3 separate regions of the Homo sapiens genome follow, and all the other regions are linked to region 3. The links are contacts of gene promoters, found by promoter capture Hi-C in blood cells and fetal thymus (Javierre and others, 2016). All regions are on one chromosome and are shown on one strand. Each heading gives the region's core, a stretch centred on a gene start or on the middle of the fragment in contact. The rest is flanking DNA. Distances are from core to core; before and after follow the strand shown. Region 1 overlaps LINC00886 (long intergenic non-protein coding RNA 886). Region 2 overlaps TIPARP (TCDD inducible poly(ADP-ribose) polymerase). Region 3 holds the start of SSR3 (signal sequence receptor subunit 3).

Region 1 (3,308 bases), core at 735-3,234, 230 kb before region 3:
AACCTATTTTAGTGTCACAGACCCATATTATTTATTGAACAAATATTTATCATGTGCCTACTGTCTTCAAGACTGTGATAGGCTCTGTAAATATAGCTGATAAACCTGATACAAGTTTTAGATCCTCTCCCCAGAAAAATGCATATACACATATACTTACAGATTTGCACCGAATTTTAGGCTCTTGAGAATATTCTGAGGCCCATTTAGGAATTCTAGATTGACAATTTCTAAATTTGAGAAAAGAGCTTGGGCTTTATGGCCAGACAGATCTAGACTTGAATGCAGCTCCACTAGCTACCAGAGTGACCTTAGACTGTTACTTATGTTCTTTAAGTCCCAATTTCCTCATCTATAAGATGAGGGGATATGGAACAAATTGTGAGGTATTTTAAGGATTAGCATTAACATATAGAAAGATATTTCTTGTTCAGACTAGGTGCTTAATAGATCATAACTATTCTCATCTTTATGTCAGGAGGTAGCTCAAAAGGGAAGTTAGAGGACAGATTCTTTATATCTGAATTTTCGGAGTCAAGGTTTTAAATTCTATAGTAACCCTAGAGATTAGTTGTTGAACAAAAATAGGTTTTGATTCTTCAACCACATCATGACCTTTTAAATAAGATGTCCAAAACTGGTATGTGAGTGGTCTGGGGTAAGAGCACATCTGCCCATGCCTTAAGAGATATTATGTGGCATGTACATATGTTTTTCTGTGGTTTGAAAACAAATTTGTGTCTGCAAATCTTAAAGATAGGTTCTGTTTTGGAAGGGATTTTGTTTCTTTGCTTGCTTTATAAAGGCTGTCCTGGTACGTATACATTTCTTTTCTGTTTTTGTTTTTTTGAGACGGAGTCTCGCTCTGTCGCCCAGGCTGGAGTAGAGTGGCGCGATCTCGGCTCACTGCAAGCTCCGCCTCTCGGGTTCACGCCATTTTCCTGCCTCAGCCTCCGAAGTAGCTGAGATTACAGGTTCCCGCCACCACGCCCGGCTAATTTTTTGTATTTTTAGTAGAGGTGGGGTTTCACCGAGTTAGCTAGGATGGTCTCAATCTCCCGACCGGGTGATCCGCCCGCCTCGGCCTCCTGAAGTGCTGGGATTACAGGCGTGAGCCACCGCGCCCGGCCACGTATACATTTCTTATTGGCAATTTCCAGCAGGAATATGGCAAACTTTAGGATAAAAGTAGCCTTAAATGAATAAGAACTTGGGCTAAGAAGCCAAAAGCCATGCTATTCCTATACTGCTTGTTCTTCCAGTGCCAAACTCTGGAATAATCCATCCTCCAAATCATTAAGTTAAAGGTAGAGTGACTCACCAACTCTCAGGAGGTGAGGGTAAACCAGACTTGTCATAATTTTATAGGCTCCTCTTTCCACTCACGAAAACAAGTTATGTGTGGCATTTACGTACATCCGTGTTGCTGGGCATTTTCCAAATGCCTCTTGGAGAACATTAAACAGGAAATTGATGCCACAGGGCAAATATTCATTCTTCCCATCCTCTCACAAAAACAAGTACAGATTTGCTGTGGCTAGACTGACTTCCTGCATTGTGCTGTTACTTATTCAATGTTACACTAGAAGAAAAAAAAAAGTACATTCTCCATTTCAATTTAGAGCATGTTGAAAATGGCCAAAATGTATAAACAAAAAAGCTTCCCTCCTGAGAGCACAGAAGTATAGATTTCTATGCTTTATAAAATCACAAAATCCAAAGGTTAATGATTGCTTTTCATGCGTATTGATGAAAGTCAATTTCTGTTACAGTAGACACACCAAATTTGGTTTAAACAATATGTGCTCTAGTTTTCAAATGACAAAGTCTGTAAGCATTTGGACACTGCAGCTTTACATATAAGGATGGCATCTTCTTCTAACCTGTAATAGTGGTCTTTGTTAGTGGCACCTCCTCAGTATCCATTTCTCCCCATTCACTTTATCAGCCCATAAACTGTTTTGCGATCCATGGGGTTTTAGGACAACTGAATCCACCTTCAGCCCCAGAATGGCTAATGTGCCTTAGGTTAAACTCTCCAATATATTATCTCCTCTAGCTAGAGATTTGTTCCAAGGGAATGTGTAACCTAAGTTCATCCAATCAAAGTAAATCTAGAGGTTTTTGCTGGGAAGAAGTTATGCTTTCTTTCCTGATAGACAAGAGCACTGAATCAATTGGCAGTTATCTTAGGATCATGATGAGTAGCAGCATTAAAATAAAGTAATTACTATGAAGAACAGAACAGAGAAACAATTGGAAGAAACCAGGCCCTAGATGCCATCATTTTGCTGCTGGATCAAGCTTTACCTGAAAATGTATCACTGGACCATTTAGTAATATAAACCATTAACTTTCCAATATTACTTAAAACCAGCTTGATTCAGGTTTTCTGTAATTTGCAACTAAAGCTTTGTAACTACTATACCTATCTGTTGGAAGAGATTTAGAAAAGAAAGGATGAGAAAAGGATGAGGGGAAAAAAATGTCTCAAGTGCCTTTAATGCCAGTGCTCTTTTCTATCAGGAAAGAAAGCATAACTTTTCCTCAGCAAAAACCTCTAGATTTACTTTGATTTGATGAGTAACCACCATAGTCATGTGAGGTGGGAGAAAAGTGAATCCATGTACTTCTTCCTGGGTCTAGGAGAGGTAGGAAGCCTTAGCAGCAGGGAGGGCCTACTCTCAACTAAGGTCACTCTTATATCCCTGCTCCTTCCAGGCTGAACTGCAACACATGCAGTTTGCAATTACTGAAATCATTTGACCACCATTTCTCTCAGATGGTTTCTACCACCTCCCTCTGAAGAATGATATATTGTTATCTCCCATTTTATAAATGAAGAAACTGAAGCCCAGAAATCCTAAGTTTCATATATATTAAACAGCAGTAGAGGATAAAGCTCAGATCTTCTTATTTCAAAACCTAGAATCTTTGTCATATAACACATATCATCCTTGTTACCCTTTTTGTATTGTATGTGGTAATTGGGGTCATCTAGAATGAGGCCTGGAAGAATTTCACATCCCTACCGTTTCCTTCCCTCTTCCTTCACTAGGAGTAACCAGAATGTATATTGTTCCACACAAGAATTAGGTCATCCTAATTTCTTTCAGCAGTGCTCCATGCTCCAAAAGTACCACCTTCCAACACTCCATGACCTGACACCATCAAGAGTCATATTTCCTCAGTCCGTAGGATAAAAATCTGCTAGAAATGCGTTTGCTGAATGAATGCACACTAAGATATGAAATATGATAAGTTTTACGTGTTACTCCTGTCTCTGAACATAAATACTTTATAAGTGA
Region 2 (3,767 bases), core at 930-3,429, 150 kb before region 3:
CCTGCCTTAGCCTCCGAAAGTGATGGGATTATAGGCATGAACCACCATGCCTGGCCATACAAATCCTTTTTATATTTCCTTCACACCCAGTGAAAGGGACAACCTGCTTATGTTTTTCTCTGCAGCTGTCTGCTGATACAGATTGAGTTTCCCTTATGGGAAACACCTGGGACTAGAAGTGTTTCGGATTTCAGGTTTTTAAGTATTTGTGTATTTCCCAGTTGAACATTCCTAATCTGAAAATCCAGAATCTGGTATGTTCCAATGAGCATTTTCTTTCAGTATCATGTTGATGCTCAAAAAGTTTTGGAGGCCAGGTGCAGTGGCTCACACCTGTAATCCCAGCACTCTGGGAGGCCAAGGTGGGAAGATCACCTGAGGTCAGGAGTTTGAGACCAGCCTGGCCAACACGATGAAACCCTGTCTGTATTAAAAGTAATAATTAAAAAAAAATCAGCCGGGCATAGAGGCGGTTGCCTTAATCCCAGCTACTCAGGAGGCTGAGGCAGGAGAATCGCCTGAACCTGGGAGGTGGAGGTTGCAGTGAGCCAAGATCGCACCACTGCACTCCAGCCTGGCGACAAAGCAAGACTCCGCCTCAAAAAAAAAAAAAAAAAAAACTTTTCCATTTCCTCCAAGTATTACCTGCAAAATAAAATATTGATTCTTCTCTTGTAAATGATAATGGGCTGCTAGATAATGTACTTTCTGTAGATTCACACTGCAGAAAAGTTTAAGCAGCAAGTTCTGGTTAGGTCTGTTCATTCAGTCACTCAATCATACATTTAACCAACCAATCAACATTTACAGATCACCAACTATGTATTAATCCAGTGATCTTAAATGGAACCAAAACAACAACAAATTTTAAAGAATTACCATAAGTTTTATTTTTGCTTAGTTTTATTAAAAAAATAAATATGTCATAAAGCTTTCTTTTTCCTTAGGGAGAAAAAAAGGAACAAGTCTCATAAAACCAAATAAGCAATGGTAAGGTGTCTTAACTTGAAAAAGATTAGGAGTCACTGGTTTACAAGTTATAATTGAATGAAAGAACTGTAACAGCCACAGTTGGCCATTTCATGCCAATGGCAGCAAACAACAGGATTAACTAGGGCAAAATAAATAAGTGTGTGGAAGCCCTGATAAGTGCTTAATAAACAGACTGATTCACTGAGACATCAGTACAGATACATCTTGCTTAAACAACACAGAAGTTCCTGAAAAGTTTTGTGTAAATGATATAACCACAAACATTACCAGGAGAGCTTGGTAACTGAAAGAATTCCATGGCGAATTCTTTTGTGAACAACTACTTTCACTTTTGTAAATCCAGGTATTTGCTTTTTATAAGGAGTTTACCTAGTTGCTACCTCTCTGAACTGAGGAAACAGCATATTCACCAAACGTTGTGCTCCAGCTGGACCACTGGCACAATTTCCAAGTTTGTGTTTCTATTAAGTAAGTAGTGTAAGTAAGGTACAGAGTCAGCCAGGGAACCCAGCTGTATCTGACAAAGCAGGTGTAGGAGTGGGACTGCCATCTACCAATAATTCCAGCAAATACTTTTGCTAATATACTTTGTGCAAAACACAGTAATAACCTTATCAATTTGGCTATAGATGTACTTCCTTTTTCTAAAACTTTCAGTCACAAGCTAGGTCTGGAACCCGAAAAGGAAGTAATACTTCTAACCCTCAAGACTGCCTTTAACCAAATTAGCTGCCCAACTCCTTCAAATTGGAATGGATGATAATGAAAGAGACTGAGTTTTCCAAAGCTGAAGTTTAACAACACAAAAATCACATTTCATATCACTAATTAGTGAAAAGTTTTGCTGGTGACAAAAATTTTTCAAATGGTTGTTTTTTGTTGTTGTTTTAACTTCCTCTAAATAGAACTCTGAATTCTGGGGCAAACTCTGCAGAAGTTAAAGTCACTGATGTTCTCTGGTTGGCTGATACATTTTAGTACTGCTGATAGAAATAAAAATTTCTTTCTACCCACCAGAATTTCATGAACTTATACTATACCAAAGCAGTGATGCTTTGGACAGGGAATACGCATGGTAGTACTAGTTCCAGTAAGTTTTATCAAACGTAAATAAATAAATAGAATCCTCACATTGCTCACAGCCTCCATTCCATTTGGTCAAACTTCTACCAGGCCCAAGCCACATTTAAATTAGGCTGTTCAGTTTTTTAATTTAATGCTCCTAATAACATTGCTGTCTATATGTACAAGTGTGAATGAAAAGAGTGTGTAATCTGTAGTCTTTTCCACACTGAGTACACTAGCAATTAGTAAATAATTAAAGAGTAAGTGGTCATTTTAAAACTTGTATTTTTTTTTTAAAAAAAGCATTTTCTAGCACTTTAAAAAATGGGTCTGAAAAGTGCCCTATTAATGTCCAATGCTGTTCCCCACCCAGTCCCACCCATTCAAAACCTGCTACAAATGCTGGATTGAGTTCATATCAAATAATTTAGCAGTACCAAGATTTTTCAAATGGAAACAGTGTTACTGACTTCTTCATATTGGATAACAAAATAAGGGTAACTCTGGTCATCATTAAAAATGACAAAAATCTGAGGCTCAAAGAAATTATCCACACAAGAGTCATAAAGGTCACTGGTGACACTGCCAGGATTGACTGGCGGGGGCCTTCTCATGCCATGACTGCCCATTGTGTATCTGCCCGTCAGCACTTTGGCCAGAAACATGAAGTGGACTCCTTTGGAGGACTTCTTAGAAAAGTTATGAGAGTAGCTTGCCTTCTTTGCAAAATAACTGCCTTGTCCAAACATTGTAGCATGCTTTCCACAGACTCGAGGGTCAAAGTTGTGTTTGCAGATTCCATCTACCACATCCTGGGATGTTCCATGAAATAAATGTCTCTCATTTATTATCCTGTCACGGCCAAACATTTTCCTGTTCATATATTCCTTTTTCCTAATGGAAAGAACAGACAGAGAATTCAGAAGGATGAAATACAGGTCAATTTAACAGGCATGATGTAGTCATAAACTTCTCTTTATGGTTTTAATGAGGAGTTATCAAGGGCAAAATGCCATCAAAGATCCTATTAAAAGTTGAAACTTATCTTTCCACTGTAGAAAAGGCCTTTTCCTTCTTTCTCCACCAATCATTCACTTGCTTTCTCTTTCATCTTAAATCTATTAAGAGTTCTCCTATGTTTTTCCTCAGGATGCCCTCCTTGCCTAATTCCTCCAATCTGAGGGTCTCTTAGATTCTGAGATTCCTGAAATCTAAATGTATTCCCTCCATTTGTCCTTCATTAGTTTGTTGACTTGAGAGGCACCACAGTAAAGGGATTAAGAGCAAGGCCTCTGGTGCCAGACGGCCTGGGTTCAAATTCCAGCACCATATCATAATAGCCGCATGACCTGCAGCAAAGTAAGCTTTCTGTGACTCAGTTTCTTCTTCTCTGTAGGATATAAATTGTAATAATCCTACTTATGTCTGTTATGAGGATTATATGTCAGTCAATACACAGAAAATATGAACATAAATTCTGTGCAAATGTTTACTATTATGTTCCTCATTTGACACTGGCTACAATAAAGCTCTCTTGATTCTTGAACTTTTTTTTTTTTTTTTTTGAGACGGAGTCTGGCTCTGTCGCCCAGGCTGGAGTGCAGTGGCGCAATCTCGGCTCACTGCAAGCTCCGCCTCCCAGGTTCACACCATTCTCCTGCCTCAGCCTCCCGAGTAGCTGGGACTACAGGTGCCCGCCACCACGCCCA
Region 3 (3,704 bases), core at 182-2,681:
CCAGAACAACAAATGAGTTTAAAAGAATGCAACTTAGTGAGATAGGAAAAACTGGGGGAGGAGTATGTGTAAGAGAAAATAATAATTTCTTCTTCTATCACTACCATGTAATAAAATAAAGAGCATTTTTAACATCAAAAAAGACATAAACCCAGATATTTTTAAATGAATACTTTTGATTTTCTGAAAAATTCACTAGATGGTCTTTTTTTCTTTTTCATTTTGTGGTGAATTAATGAAAACTTCTGGCATTAAGGAACACTTGCGGTAGATAATGGAAGGATTTATATTTCAGGAAAACTCACTCTGGTACCTGTATAGAGAATAGACTGGAAAAGATTGAAGACAAAAGCCCAATTAGGACTAGTAATAGGAAGCTGTGGAGGTAGATTACAATTTGGATACTGTGAGGAAGAAAGATATCTACCAAACGGTTAATAAGGAGGCTGGAGGTTGAGGAAATTGTGCCTAATGCACTAGAGTGTTCTCAGTAATCAAAAGTAGCATTTGCTGGGAGTGATGTGGTTGAATTTTTTTTTGAAGAAAAAATGATAATGTGTTGAGTTAAAAATGGAATCTAGCTGTTTTAATAGACATACTTAATCCTTCTGAGCTTCAGAGAGGGAGTCTTGCCTAGCCAACCTGTTCTTAGTATTATGTTTTATTTAGCATGGCTTTGGAAGCCACAAAACTCTATAGGTCTAGTTGAAATAAAATAAAATAGTAGTAACTTGTATCAGACATATATTAAATATTGCCTTCATCAATGAGATCATGAGTTTCTTAAAAGCAAGAGTCCCATTTTCTTCTTCCTACAGAGGTGGCCTATTGTTTAGTGAAAAGAGCCCACGCCTTGGAGACCCACACCGCAGGTCTACGACCCTCAGGCTCTTCAGCTGCAATGGCGGTAATGATGCGCACGTCATAAGATTCTTCAAGGTATTTAATGAAATAAAGGATGTGTAAAGGAGAAGGGATTTTACATGAGTTAGCTATACCTTTCTCTTCTTTCTTCTTCAACGTACTCAGTCCTGGGTACGCACAGAGGGCACTAATGGCGTGGGGCCAGAAGAGCTTTTAATTTTGGAATTCTGAAGAACTGAGAACTCGTGAGTCTGTCAGCAGCTCTGAAGTGGAATATCAATAAAGTTTTGTTAATTTTTTTTAAAGCACCGACTAAACTACAAATCCCTTCTCTCTCCTCCAGGTGGGTGGGTCACGTGGCTTGTCAGGAATCCGGAAGTCTGGCCCGCTCGCCCAATCACGCCCGGAAGCCTATCTAGTGGCGCCAAGCTGGCCAATCCTGGGGACGCTTGCTCTTCGCCAAACCGGGTCCCGCCTCCGCGCGCCGCGCTGACGGGTCGTTAGCGGATACGGCGGCCGCAGGGGCGGAGTCAAGGGCCTTTGCCCGCCTTGGCGGCCGGCTCTACGTTCCCTGTTCTCGCCTGCAGCTCCGCCATGGCTCCTAAAGGCAGCTCCAAACAGCAGTCTGAGGAGGACCTGCTCCTGCAGGATTTCAGCCGCAATCTCTCGGCCAAGTCCTCCGCGCTCTTCTTCGGAAACGCGTTCATCGTGTCTGCCATCCCCATCTGTGAGTGCTGGGAGCGAGGCGGGTTAGGCAGGCCGCCGGCTAGTCGGGCTGGGCGGGGACGTGGCAGGACCCGGCGAGCAGGGAAGGCGTGGGTGCCGGCCGGGGGTCGGCAATCTCTCCAGCTCCCCTGAGCTCGGGGAGGCACGGAGCCTCTTCTTTGGGCACAGTGTTGTCGCTTGGGATTGTCCTGTGCAGCACTCGGGGAGGTCACTTGTTAAAAGTACGCACGTTCCCGAGCTCCACCCCAGGAGAAGGTGGTTAACTAGTTCTGGGGTGGCGGCCCCGAATCTCTATTTAAACAGACAAACTCAAGCATACTGCCTCTGCCCTTTTCTATACAACTGTTGCTTGCCGTTACGAAATTTTAAACTTATTACTTATTTTGCATAAATTAGTTAGGTGAGAAACCCATGAAGTGACCCACTGAATTATAAGTGCATCTTTACGTGAGCTACTTCACACCATTGCATAATTTTCCTGGTTTTTGCAAAAAGAGAGAGGTTGAAGTGCCAGGGGTTAGGGATCTACCTTATTTATACTTTTTAATAATCCTACTGGACCAATTCTAGAATTCTCACTTGGTTGGGAAACTGCAGACTTGGACAAGGTCGTTTTTAGTAGAGCTCAAGTTTCCAGAACTCCTGTCTTTTGCTGCACTGTTGTTGGGCATTTAAAACTAAATGTATTTTTCTCTTTTGTCCTTATACAACCCAGCGTGCCATTAACGTGATGTGAAGCCATATGATGGCTCACTAATTGGACATAGCACTGCTTGGAGTTCTGATAACAGCCACGTCAGCAAGGAAACTATGGTTTGGGGCTGCACGTGGCATTTTGGAATGGCCTGTGTTTCGCATGCTAGTACCCTGATGAATGAAATTTGAAGTCTGACTTGTGATTACGTTGAGCCAGAGTTTGTTCTCATTTTAGAAGTTGAAATCTCATCTGGACTAGTAATAGGAAGGTGATGTTTTTCAAATGTTCTGAACTGGAAAGCTTGAGACTATACTGTTACTGGTTATCTCGCTTCTGAAGATCCTCAGATACTATTGGATTGCATAACTAATAACCTGGTATTTTACCAGGCTTAGCTATAATTAATTTCGCAGGCTTTTGTTGCGGGGTTGTAATGTTTTGCTTCTTTTTGTACCCTTCCCCCTTTTATTTTAATTCAGGGTTATACTGGCGAATATGGCATATGGATCTTATTCAGTCTGCTGTTTTGTATAGTGTGATGACCCTAGTAAGCACATATTTGGTAGCCTTTGCATACAAGAATGTGAAATTTGTTCTCAAGCACAAGTAAGTATGTTTTTCAAGTGAAAGTACGTACTACATGTTATATTTTTATATGTCTTCTTAAAGATCATTTGTGTGTGTTGGTTTTAATAAGCATTAATTTGAGATATATATATTAATAAACATTTTGGGGGAAAGGAACATTGATGCTAGGAAGAATTATTAACTAACTGAAGTAGAGACAATGATCATTCTGACACGGCTACAGAAGCAGATTTTGAGGGTGGAATTAGAACACTTAAACACAGGCCTTAATATGAGGTTCATCAGAGAAACAAACCCACCAAGTAAGTTAACATTTCAGAAGCTAAATGTAATTCCTTATGGAGAGAATTGTTCTGGGCTCTTCACGTACTATTTTTGGAAGTTAAAGAAATGATCTTTTTGTCATTATTATTTTTTGAGACAAGGTCTAGTTCTTGCCCAGTCTGCAGTGCAGTGGCATGATTATGGTTCACTGCAGCCTCAACCTTCCCAGGCTCAAGGGATCCTCCCACCTCAGCCTCCCAAGTAGCTGGGCCTACAGGTGCAGGCTACCATGCCCAGCTAATTTTTTTGTAGAGACAGGCCATGTTGACCAGGCTGGTCTTTTTATTTTATTGCTTTTTTTTTTTTTTAACTCTCTGTCATTTTCAATGCTAATTACGTTTGTTTTCATACAAGTGTATAAAATGTAAAGGATTAACATAGTCTAAGATCACACATACTGTAAAATACAGCTTTTAGAGAAGAAAACTCAAGCCTCACCACAATAAACTTATACCTTAATTATAAGCAATTAAATATTCTAGTTTCATAGAGGTTAAAATGCAGG

Evidence for each region. The method cuts DNA at HindIII sites, captures the fragments that hold promoters and counts their contacts. A CHiCAGO score of 5 or more calls a contact.
Region 1: a contact is called between a fragment that was not itself captured here and the fragment with the promoter of SSR3 in region 3, in 1 of 17 cell types (non-activated CD4 T cells). The highest score is 5.4, in non-activated CD4 T cells.
Region 2: a contact is called between a fragment that was not itself captured here and the fragment with the promoter of SSR3 in region 3, in 13 of 17 cell types (neutrophils, monocytes, naive CD4 T cells and 10 more). The highest score is 11.5, in neutrophils.

Annotation. Positions count from the first base shown.
Region 1 is chr3:156,782,423-156,785,730 of GRCh38, reverse strand. All of the region lies in intron 1 of LINC00886 (long intergenic non-protein coding RNA 886), which reads left to right. Among named protein-coding and RNA genes, the nearest start is that of LINC00886, 33 kb to the left of the region's middle. The HindIII fragment of the contact is 644 bases long and covers 1,663-2,306 here.
Region 2 is chr3:156,703,869-156,707,635 of GRCh38, reverse strand. It overlaps TIPARP (TCDD inducible poly(ADP-ribose) polymerase), which reads right to left. Exons shown (of 6, transcript NM_015508.5): 6 at 866-2,952. The coding sequence ends at 2,505. Among named protein-coding and RNA genes, the nearest start is that of TIPARP-AS1, 30 kb to the right of the region's middle. The HindIII fragment of the contact is 2,491 bases long and covers 934-3,424 here.
Region 3 is chr3:156,552,844-156,556,547 of GRCh38, reverse strand. SSR3 (signal sequence receptor subunit 3) reads left to right here and starts at 1,431. Exons shown (of 5, transcript NM_007107.5): 1 at 1,431-1,591; 2 at 2,767-2,893. The coding sequence starts at 1,459. RefSeq lists an enhancer at 1,493-1,572. The HindIII fragment of the contact is 5,682 bases long and covers 1-2,589 here.